Regions from separate parts of the Homo sapiens genome. Here all the other regions are linked to region 2. The links are contacts of gene promoters, found by promoter capture Hi-C in human tissues and cell types (Jung and others, 2019). All regions are on one chromosome and are shown on one strand. Each heading gives the region's core, a stretch centred on a gene start or on the middle of the fragment in contact. The rest is flanking DNA. Distances are from core to core; before and after follow the strand shown.

What was found. Contacts are between HindIII fragments. The study calls those that stand out against the background at their distance.
Region 1: a contact is called between a fragment that was not itself captured here and the fragment with the promoter of NR6A1 in region 2, in 1 of the 25 tissues and cell types used here (lymphoblastoid cells).
Region 3: a contact is called between a fragment that was not itself captured here and the fragment with the promoter of NR6A1 in region 2, in 1 of the 25 tissues and cell types used here (dorsolateral prefrontal cortex).

What each region holds. Positions count from the first base shown.
Region 1 is chr9:124,591,256-124,593,955 of GRCh38, reverse strand. The region is part of intron 2 of NR6A1 (nuclear receptor subfamily 6 group A member 1); the gene reads left to right. Among named protein-coding and RNA genes, the nearest start is that of MIR181A2HG, 66 kb to the left of the region's middle. The HindIII fragment of the contact is 3,555 bases long and covers 1-2,700 here.
Region 2 is chr9:124,769,879-124,772,659 of GRCh38, reverse strand. It overlaps NR6A1 (nuclear receptor subfamily 6 group A member 1), which reads left to right and starts at 1,349. Exons shown (of 10, transcript NM_033334.4): 1 at 1,349-1,640. The coding sequence starts at 1,541. It overlaps LOC124900274 (a long non-coding RNA gene), which reads left to right and starts at 2,180. Exons shown (of 2, transcript XR_007061773.1): 1 at 2,180-2,781. LOC107987126 (a long non-coding RNA gene) reads right to left here and starts at 1,303. Exons shown (of 2, transcript XR_001746926.3): 1 at 887-1,303. RefSeq lists enhancers at 950-1,209, 1,000-1,567 and silencers at 1,280-1,859, 2,400-2,649. The HindIII fragment of the contact is 6,332 bases long and covers 1-2,781 here.
Region 3 is chr9:124,537,184-124,539,908 of GRCh38, reverse strand. NR6A1 (nuclear receptor subfamily 6 group A member 1) reads left to right here. Exons shown (of 10, transcript NM_033334.4): 6 at 1,590-1,817. Among named protein-coding and RNA genes, the nearest start is that of NR5A1, 31 kb to the right of the region's middle. The HindIII fragment of the contact is 3,760 bases long and covers 1-2,725 here.

The DNA.
Region 1 (2,700 bases), core at 61-2,560, 180 kb after region 2:
ATCTGTGGAGTCATACAATCTGGTCTTTCAGCCCTGCCAGTCGCTAGGCAGGAAGTCTTATTTCTTAAGCTATCTTTCAGAATGGGGGTTGGGATTTGGAGAAAGGTGGGGGAAGGGCTTTGGAGCATCTGTAAGGATCAATAACAGAGAGAGAGAGAGAGCCGTAAGAGAGGCCATTGTGCACACTTCAAGATAGATGCAGCCCTTGTGCACAGCCCCTGCCTGGCAGGACAGACACCTAAAACCAAAACAATGACACCGAATGAATTCTCTGTGAAAATTAGATTGCCGCTTAAAGGAGAAAAATACTTGAGTGCCCTTTCAACGTTGGGGAATATTCTCATTCCTCAACTTGCAAAGATTAGGCAACCCCCACTAAAAATAACTCCAAATTGATTTTTAAATGCCTTTTGTCCTCATGCTAATACTGTATTGAATTGGAGAGGGTGATCATTTGGGTCTTGGTCACATGCATCAAAGCATTGAGTAAGTAATCTTTTTTCTTCTCTCTCTCCCCCTCTCTGCTCTCTTCCTCCCTCCCTTTTTCTCTTCTTTTTTATTCTAATGTTTGCTTTACCCTGTTGGTTTTGGAGGCATCATTAAGGGAATGAAAAAACTAAGATTTGGTTAGGATTTGAGTAACACATGTGCGAAATCCCTCCCCGAACAGCTGGTATTGGCTCTCGAAACTTCAACTGAGCTAAACAGATGTTCCTAGTGTGTTATTTTGAGATAATTTAAACCAGACTTATAGTCAAGAACTCTACAAAAATTGTAGATTTGATTTTTAAATGCACTAAAGTTGTGATATCGTGCCACATCTTAATACATGTTATATGGGTGTTAAGCAAAAACACCTGAGCTTGGGAAAGTGAGCAGTTCCGCCAATGAAATTGTGATATTTAAAACACTACCAAGTTTGTTATTCTTTTACTCCAGCCCAGATTTTCATTTTTCAGATTCCCCTTTCCCAAACCCTGTAACATTCCTGTTTTACTGTATCCTTTTCCAGAGGACTAAGGCATTAATTCATTAGGTACTTTCTTGATGCAAATTCTTTATGGCATTTGGAAAGAGTAATGGAGTCATTGCCACCTTTCTTCTACTAAACTTCCAAAGTACTGGTGACAACTGACTGGTAACAGCTGAGAAAAATGGAATCCTAAACAGCCTTAAATAGTCTTCTCCCAACTTGAAATCTTCCAGGAATAAATGCATAAATGAACTGGGGGTCCATAATGTGGCTTGCAGACAGACAAATGGAATAAGGGGAGGCGGGGAGACCTGCGCTTGAAATTAGCAAGTTTAGTTTATTCTAGGCTTCTTGAGTTGAAAACTGACATAATCTGGACAATTTTGAGGCTAGGAAAAATATCTGGATGCCTCACATCATCTGGATATTTTTAACCCATCTCTAATCGGTACCCTTTTGCTGGGGAAAATGATGTACAGGAAGAAAATCTGATTTAATCACCGCAAACAGTACCTCCTTGACACAATTGATTCTGCCCCTCTGATATATTGTAATTCTCCATTAATATTTAAACCAAAGAATCGATTATTTTAATGGACATTTTCCATGGACATACAAATATTACTAACAAAACTTGGAAATTCAGTTACCATTTCCGTTGTGTTAAAATGGGGTATGAAACCTACCATGACCCTTTTGAACAATGTGGTCTTTAATGTGTATTAGGGGGAGGGCCTAGTGAAGGAAAAGCCATAAAAGTCCTCAGGGTTCAAGATGAGGTTGGGATTTTGGCCCATTGCTTTTGTCATTTTCACACACAAACATCGCTGCAATCATGTTTGATTTAGCATCCTTAATACAATGAGGTGGGAGAACAAAAGGATATCAGAGGCACAAATATGGCAACCAAACAATCTCCCACCCCGCGACCACCAATTTTTTCACATCATTCGTTTTTTTCTGTTCCCCTGCTACTGGGGTTTCTTTTTAAGCCGAGGAAATTAATCTATTTGCAAGAATCTTCTTTTTGCATGCCTCAGTAGTTTGCTTGGGCAATTGAAAAGCTACATCTCAAATGGTTTTTAGCTGTGTGAAAAGTCATTTCCTAAAAACTTGGGGAAAACGCTATAATTAGGAAAAATGCATCTACCCATATTTCAAGGTTAAGAGTTGGTCAGGGTGTGTGGTGGGGGGTGGGGGAGGTGTTCACACTGCACAGCTGTTTTACATATTTTGAAAAGCCTGATAGATGTAAAGGTCATTGCTAACTCTAACAGGGTCTTGATGCTCACACTGTGATCCAAGGACCTTGCATTAATTAGGATGAGAAGCATGGAAGGTCAGGAGTCAACCGGCTGGTGAGCCTCGATGGATTGTTAGTGGGACCAATCAGAATTCCTGTAGGATTTTTAAACCATTAAAACAAAAAAACAAAAACTACTGCTGCTTCTGTTGCCTCTGGATGGATCCCTTGGTCTGTGTGGCAAGGACTCGTCCCCTGTTGCCCAGATGGCTCATAAAAACTTGGCTACGTATATGGCTTTGCTACAGGCTTCCTGGTGTTGGAGAAAGAACCTCATCAGCTTGACTCTGTCACTTGGCCAAGTCACTTGACCTCTATGAACCTCAATTTCCTTATATATGCAACAGAGGATAGTAATACCTATCTCACAGGACCGCTATGGGAATTAAATAAGAAAACTGTCAAGAGTGCCCAGAACATGCTT
Region 2 (2,781 bases), core at 100-2,599:
GAGGTTTAGACGGCAGAGCGTTAATGTAAGTCTCCCAGATTACGTATGAAATACAGTTTCACCAGGGTTGGTAAGGTCCAGTTGCCCCCAAGTGCAGAGAAGCGTTGCAACTTTCGTAGCAGGTGAGGGACGGGGTATGGTGCGAAATGTGGGCAAGGGTCAGGCCAAGCAGGGATGCGAATGCCAGGACGAGGACTTAAAATTAGGCAAAAAAAAAATAAAAGGGCTAAGGGATTGGTGGGGCGGGTGGGGCAGGAGAGGGCGAATGAGCGGCCACCGAGGAAGCTGCAGCATAATCCGGCAGAGCAGAAGTGGGCAAAGCACCAACGTTCTCGTTCTTTGTCTTCAAGTGGGCCAGGTAGGCCTTAGACCCTTGGCGGCAGCAGCGAAATCCTTTCCCGATGGGGTCGCCGAAGACGGACACCCCGGCGGGCCTAGTGACCGGTGGCCGCGCGCCACCTGGTGGCCGCAGCGGGTGGATTCGGCCGGGAGCCGCTGCAAAATTCGGGATTTTGCTTCCGGAAAGCTTCGGGAAACTGAGGTGGGAGGGGCAGGGGTTTGCGATCTTCCAACTTGATCCTGTCCTTATTCCAACCCCCTTTTACAGATAGGGAAACTGAGGAAAGGGGAAGGCAAACAAGGCTGGGCAAGGGATCCCTCTTAAACGGAAGGTTTCAAGACACCTGGGGTCAAGAGCCTAGGGCTTTCTTTAATAGCCCCAATGGCCCGGAGCTTAGTTTGCCCATCTGTTCTATGGGCAGGGGGAAAATGAAAGGGGAGGAGGGGAAACTTTAGTCTTTGCCGCCCACCCGGAGGTAAAAAGTCTTTAAAGACTACCCCGGAAAGAAGAGTTTTATATATTCCATTTGCATACGAACGCAGTCACCTCGAGTTAAACTCCGGTCCTTTAATCTCCGGTCCAATTTGTCCCGCAGCGGCAGGGAGAGGCCCACGTGAGTACCTTCAAGCCCCGCCTCCAGGGCCCCGCCCACAGGGCTGGGCTTCGTTGCACGTGCTCACCCGGCTGCCTCGCGATCCACCTCCTCGCAAAGACTCATTGTTGGGGTGGGGGGTTACGAGGACTCTTAGGGAACTTTGATCAGGTAGAAATCACAATCAAGACAAGGCCCGGAAGTATCCGCTTACTACATAGACATCAAACGCTTTGTCATGGTTCTTGATATTGACAGACTTTAGCTTTCCCTTCTCAGGACTTCTTATCCCTCCTTCCACCCCTTCAGTTGGTGCGGTCGGCGTGGCCGGCCTCGCTGAGCGGACTCCAACTTCCAGCGTGCCCCGCAGGGCCTTGCGCGGCAGCGGCGTGTGACGTCAGGGGAGGGAGCTGGCCAGTGCTGAGGGGGCGCGGCGCGGAGGGGCGCGGAGCGGCGCGGAGCCGGGCGGCTCGGGGCCCAGAGAGAGCCGCGGCCGGGAGCTCGCGGGCTCCTGACAACCTCCTCCCCTCGGCGGACGACGACCACGGCGACTAGGGCGCCGGTCATGGCGGAGCAACAAACCCGGCGCGGACCCTAGGCACCACCGCATGGAGCGGGACGAACCGCCGCCTAGCGGAGGGGGAGGCGGCGGGGGCTCGGCGGGGTTCCTGGAGCCTCCCGCCGCGCTCCCTCCGCCGCCGCGCAACGGTGGGTGAGGGGCCTGCGACGCCCGGGCCAGGCAGGAACCGGCTTCCTGAGCCTCCGCCAGGGATCCCCCTCCTCTCTGCCGACCCTCGCCCTGGGAAGCCGCAGCGGCCCCGCGGCCCCTTAGGGTGGCCCTTCACCCCGTTCCCCGTTGGCGCGGACCCTCCCTCTCCTCCCCGGTCTCGCTCAGGGTGGATCCTCCTCCTTCGTCCCTGTTCCCTTCTGCGCGGACCCTCCCCCTGCCCGGGTCCCTGGGCACCGAGCTTCATTTCCCCCTCCCCCCGTCCCCTCTGCACAGGCTTCCCCTCCCCCCGTCCCCTCAGCACCAATCCTCCCTCCTCCCCCCGGGTCCCCTCCCCCTGTCTTCCCAGCACCGAACCTTCCCCTCCCCCCGGGCTCCTCAGGTTGGAAGTCCCCACCGCGGTCCGTCAGTGGGGGCATCCCCTCACTCGGGTTCCCTTAACGCAGAGCCTCTCTTTTCCCCTACAGGGGTTCCTCCTCCCACCGAGGACGCTCCCTTCTTGCCCTGTTGACCCGACTCCACAGCACCCTTGTACCGCTCAGCTTTCTAGAGCGTTTTCCTCTTCTGCAGCCTCGAGCGTTCTTCCTTGAATACTACGAGCCCCCCACCTCTGCCGAACCCCCGTTCGCTAGACATCCCCCAGTCGTTTCCTTTTTCGGACCCCTTCGCGCCTCCTGCTTCCCCTGCGCCTCACCTTCCTCAACGCCCCGCGCGCTCTGGCCGGTCTCCGCCCCTGCTCAGCTCCCCTCTCCGCCAGGCAACGGCTTTCCCTGGCCGAGGGCTCCAGCCCGCCCCGGGGCCCCGGACACCTGCCTCCTCCCGGCTTCTGCCCGGCAGGTCCCGGTCCCCACCTCTTAGTCTCAGTTCTCCTCTTTCTTGTCCCGATCCGGGACCTTGGGAGCTGAGAATCCCTCACCTGGCCCGGCCCTTCCTACCGCTCGTCCCTCGCCCCCTCGCCCGGGCCGGGTCCTCAGGTTCCTCGGGGCTTCCTCGCCCTCCTCCCCTTCGCTCCCTCCCCCTGCGGGGTGTTTTATTTGTATCTGTTTGATATTTTCCTCCTCGGTGTTTGCCGCGGAATGTTTTTATTGGTAACGTGTTAGGAGCTTTTGTGAGGTCGTAAAA
Region 3 (2,725 bases), core at 213-2,712, 230 kb after region 2:
ACTCTTGGAGTAGGGGTCAGGAAGATTAAAAACAGTGTTTCCCAGCCCCTTTTATGCTAAAGACCTTGAAAATGTCAGTGGTCTCTTCTGCAGACTGATAAAGTGCTATAGCTTCTATCCATGCCCGTGCATTCTTCACCTAACAGAATAACATTTTAAATGTTGCCATTTTCCCTCATTTATTTTATCACTGAAATAAACCTTTTTGACAGTTTTGAATTAAACTGTAATTTCTCTGCCTCACAAGAGTCAATGTTTTTCACTTTATAAATTTTAAGAAACATTGAAGGCTTTTTAAGCCAGTCAAATTTGCTGCTATCAGAGAATACAAACTTAGAAACTCTTGGTTCAAGCATATCTTTAGTTAGTTGTCGAGTGTGAAATAGATCCTTCAGCTATTAGGGAAGCTTTCCTTTCCCCAGAAACCTTTCTTATAGGATATGGATTGACAAACTTTTTCTGCAAAGGCCAGATAGTAAATATTTTCAGCTTTCCGGGCCTAATGGTTTGGATCTCAGCTTCTCCATTCTGCCTTTGTAGTGTGAAAACAGCTATGGCCATGGACATTATGTGAACCAGTGAGCATGGCTGTGTTCCAAAATAGGCAGTGGGCTGGATTTAGCTTGCAAGCCAAAGTTTGCCAACCCCAGTTATAGGAGATACATTTAGGCAAAAGCTGGAAGATTTTTTTTTTTCTTAAGAGATGCCAGGCATGGTGGCTCACATCTGTATTCCCAGCACTTTGGGAGGTCAAGGTGGGTAGATTGCTTAAGTCCAGGAGTTCAAGACCAGCCTAGGCAACATGGCAAGACTCTGTCTTTTTTTGTTGTTGTCGTTGTTAATTAAATACTTTTTTTTTTAAAAAAAGAGATGGAGTCTTGCTATGTTGCCCAGGCTTGTCTCAAATTCCTAGCCTTAAGTGATCCTTCCACCTCAGCCTCCCAAGTAGCTGAAACTGTAGGTGCACACCACTGTGGCTGGCTTAGGTTTTTTTTTTTTTTTTAATTAGTTGACAGAGTGGTTAGCTTTCTCCAAGAAAGGAAAGGAAGGCAAAAATCTACCTTTGTCTTCATATTTAATTAAAGCTTTTATCCCATTCAGGTGCCCCTTCGTTTGTTCTTTCCTTGGACTATTTAGGGGGTTGTTGCCACATGCCGGGTTCCTTGCTAGATGCTGGATTTGTTTTGTGGCCTAGCCAGGACTTAGCCTGTCTGTGCCTTAGTTTTCCTAGCAGTATTATAATATAAATACCTACTTTGTCATCATAGTCTACAAGTATCTGTTAAAAAACTGTCCAGACATGGCACCTATACAAAGAATTCATTCAACCAATATTTATTCATTACCTACTCTGCCATGCACTGAGTGTCCAGTGGCGACCCCAACATTCATATACCCATAGAGTCTTTGTCTTACAGATGGGAATCTAGTAGGAGAGACATGAATTTAACTATTAATTATGCCCCCTGGCTTGATGAAGACACATACCTCATGTTCAAAGAATACCTAAAGTCACCTTCTGGCTCACTTCCTTTGAGTAATTACTAGACTTGCCATGGCTCTGTTTGACGCAAGACTTTTCTCTCCAGTAGGTCTGTGGAACTGAATGGATTCATGGCCTTCAGGGAACAGTACATGGGAATGTCTGTGCCTCCACATTACCAATATATACCGCACCTTTTTAGCTATTCTGGCCACTCACCACTTCTGCCCCAACAAGCTCGCAGCCTGGATCCCCAGTCATACAGTCTGATTCACCAGCTGTTATCAGCCGAGGACCTGGAACCATTGGGCACGCCCATGTTGATTGAAGATGGGTGAGTGAGCTCCGCCCTTCTTGGCCCCTTGCAGTCTCAAAGTGTCCCTACCCCACACCCACTCGCGTCCCTGGCTCCTATACCCGTGGCTTCAGAATGAGTTGGGGGGATAATGACTCAAGTGTCAGGGGACAAATCTGTGCTTATCTTTGAAACCAGTGATCCCTTATTTTTTCCTTAAGCATCCTTTCTCATAGAGTTGAGGTTACTTTCCAGTTCCTATGGAATTGAGATAGAAGGGCCTTTGATTCTGCTTGGGCCTAGGTAAGCCAGGTGCTGGGATGGGTCAGAGCACTTCCATGCTAGAGATGAGCAGTAATTCTGGGAATAGTTATATATCGGATATAGGCTCCTTCACAAAGCCCTGGCTGGTTGTAGCCTGTCTGCACCCCTCACCAGCATCCCCATGGCTAGCCTGGTGGCATGTGACCACTTTAAGTGCAGGCTTGAGTGGGTAGAAGGAGTATTCTTTCAGTCTTTAGTCACTTCTACCTGAGGAGATAACAGTTCAGCCTTCGGGCCTACCCATTGCTGCATCCATTACTCCTTTGGCCTAGAGCATAAACGATTTGAGTGTTATCAAGCTTAGACCTCCCAGGAAGGTATCCTGAGATTTCTTAAGCTAGTCTCCAGTTTCAGAAGAGGAGATTAAAATATCTACCCACAAGGAGGTCACACAAACCCTTTGTAAATCTAGATGTAGGAAGCCGGGCGTGGTGGCTCATGCCTGTAATCCCAGCACTTTGGAAGGCCTAGGTGGGCGGATCACCAGGTCACGAGTTCCAGACGAGCTGGCCAACATGGTGAAACCCCGTGTGTACTAAAAATACAAAAATTAGCTGGGTGTGGTGGCACACGCCTGTAATCGCAGCTACTCAGTAAGCTGAGGCAGGAGAATTGCTTGAACC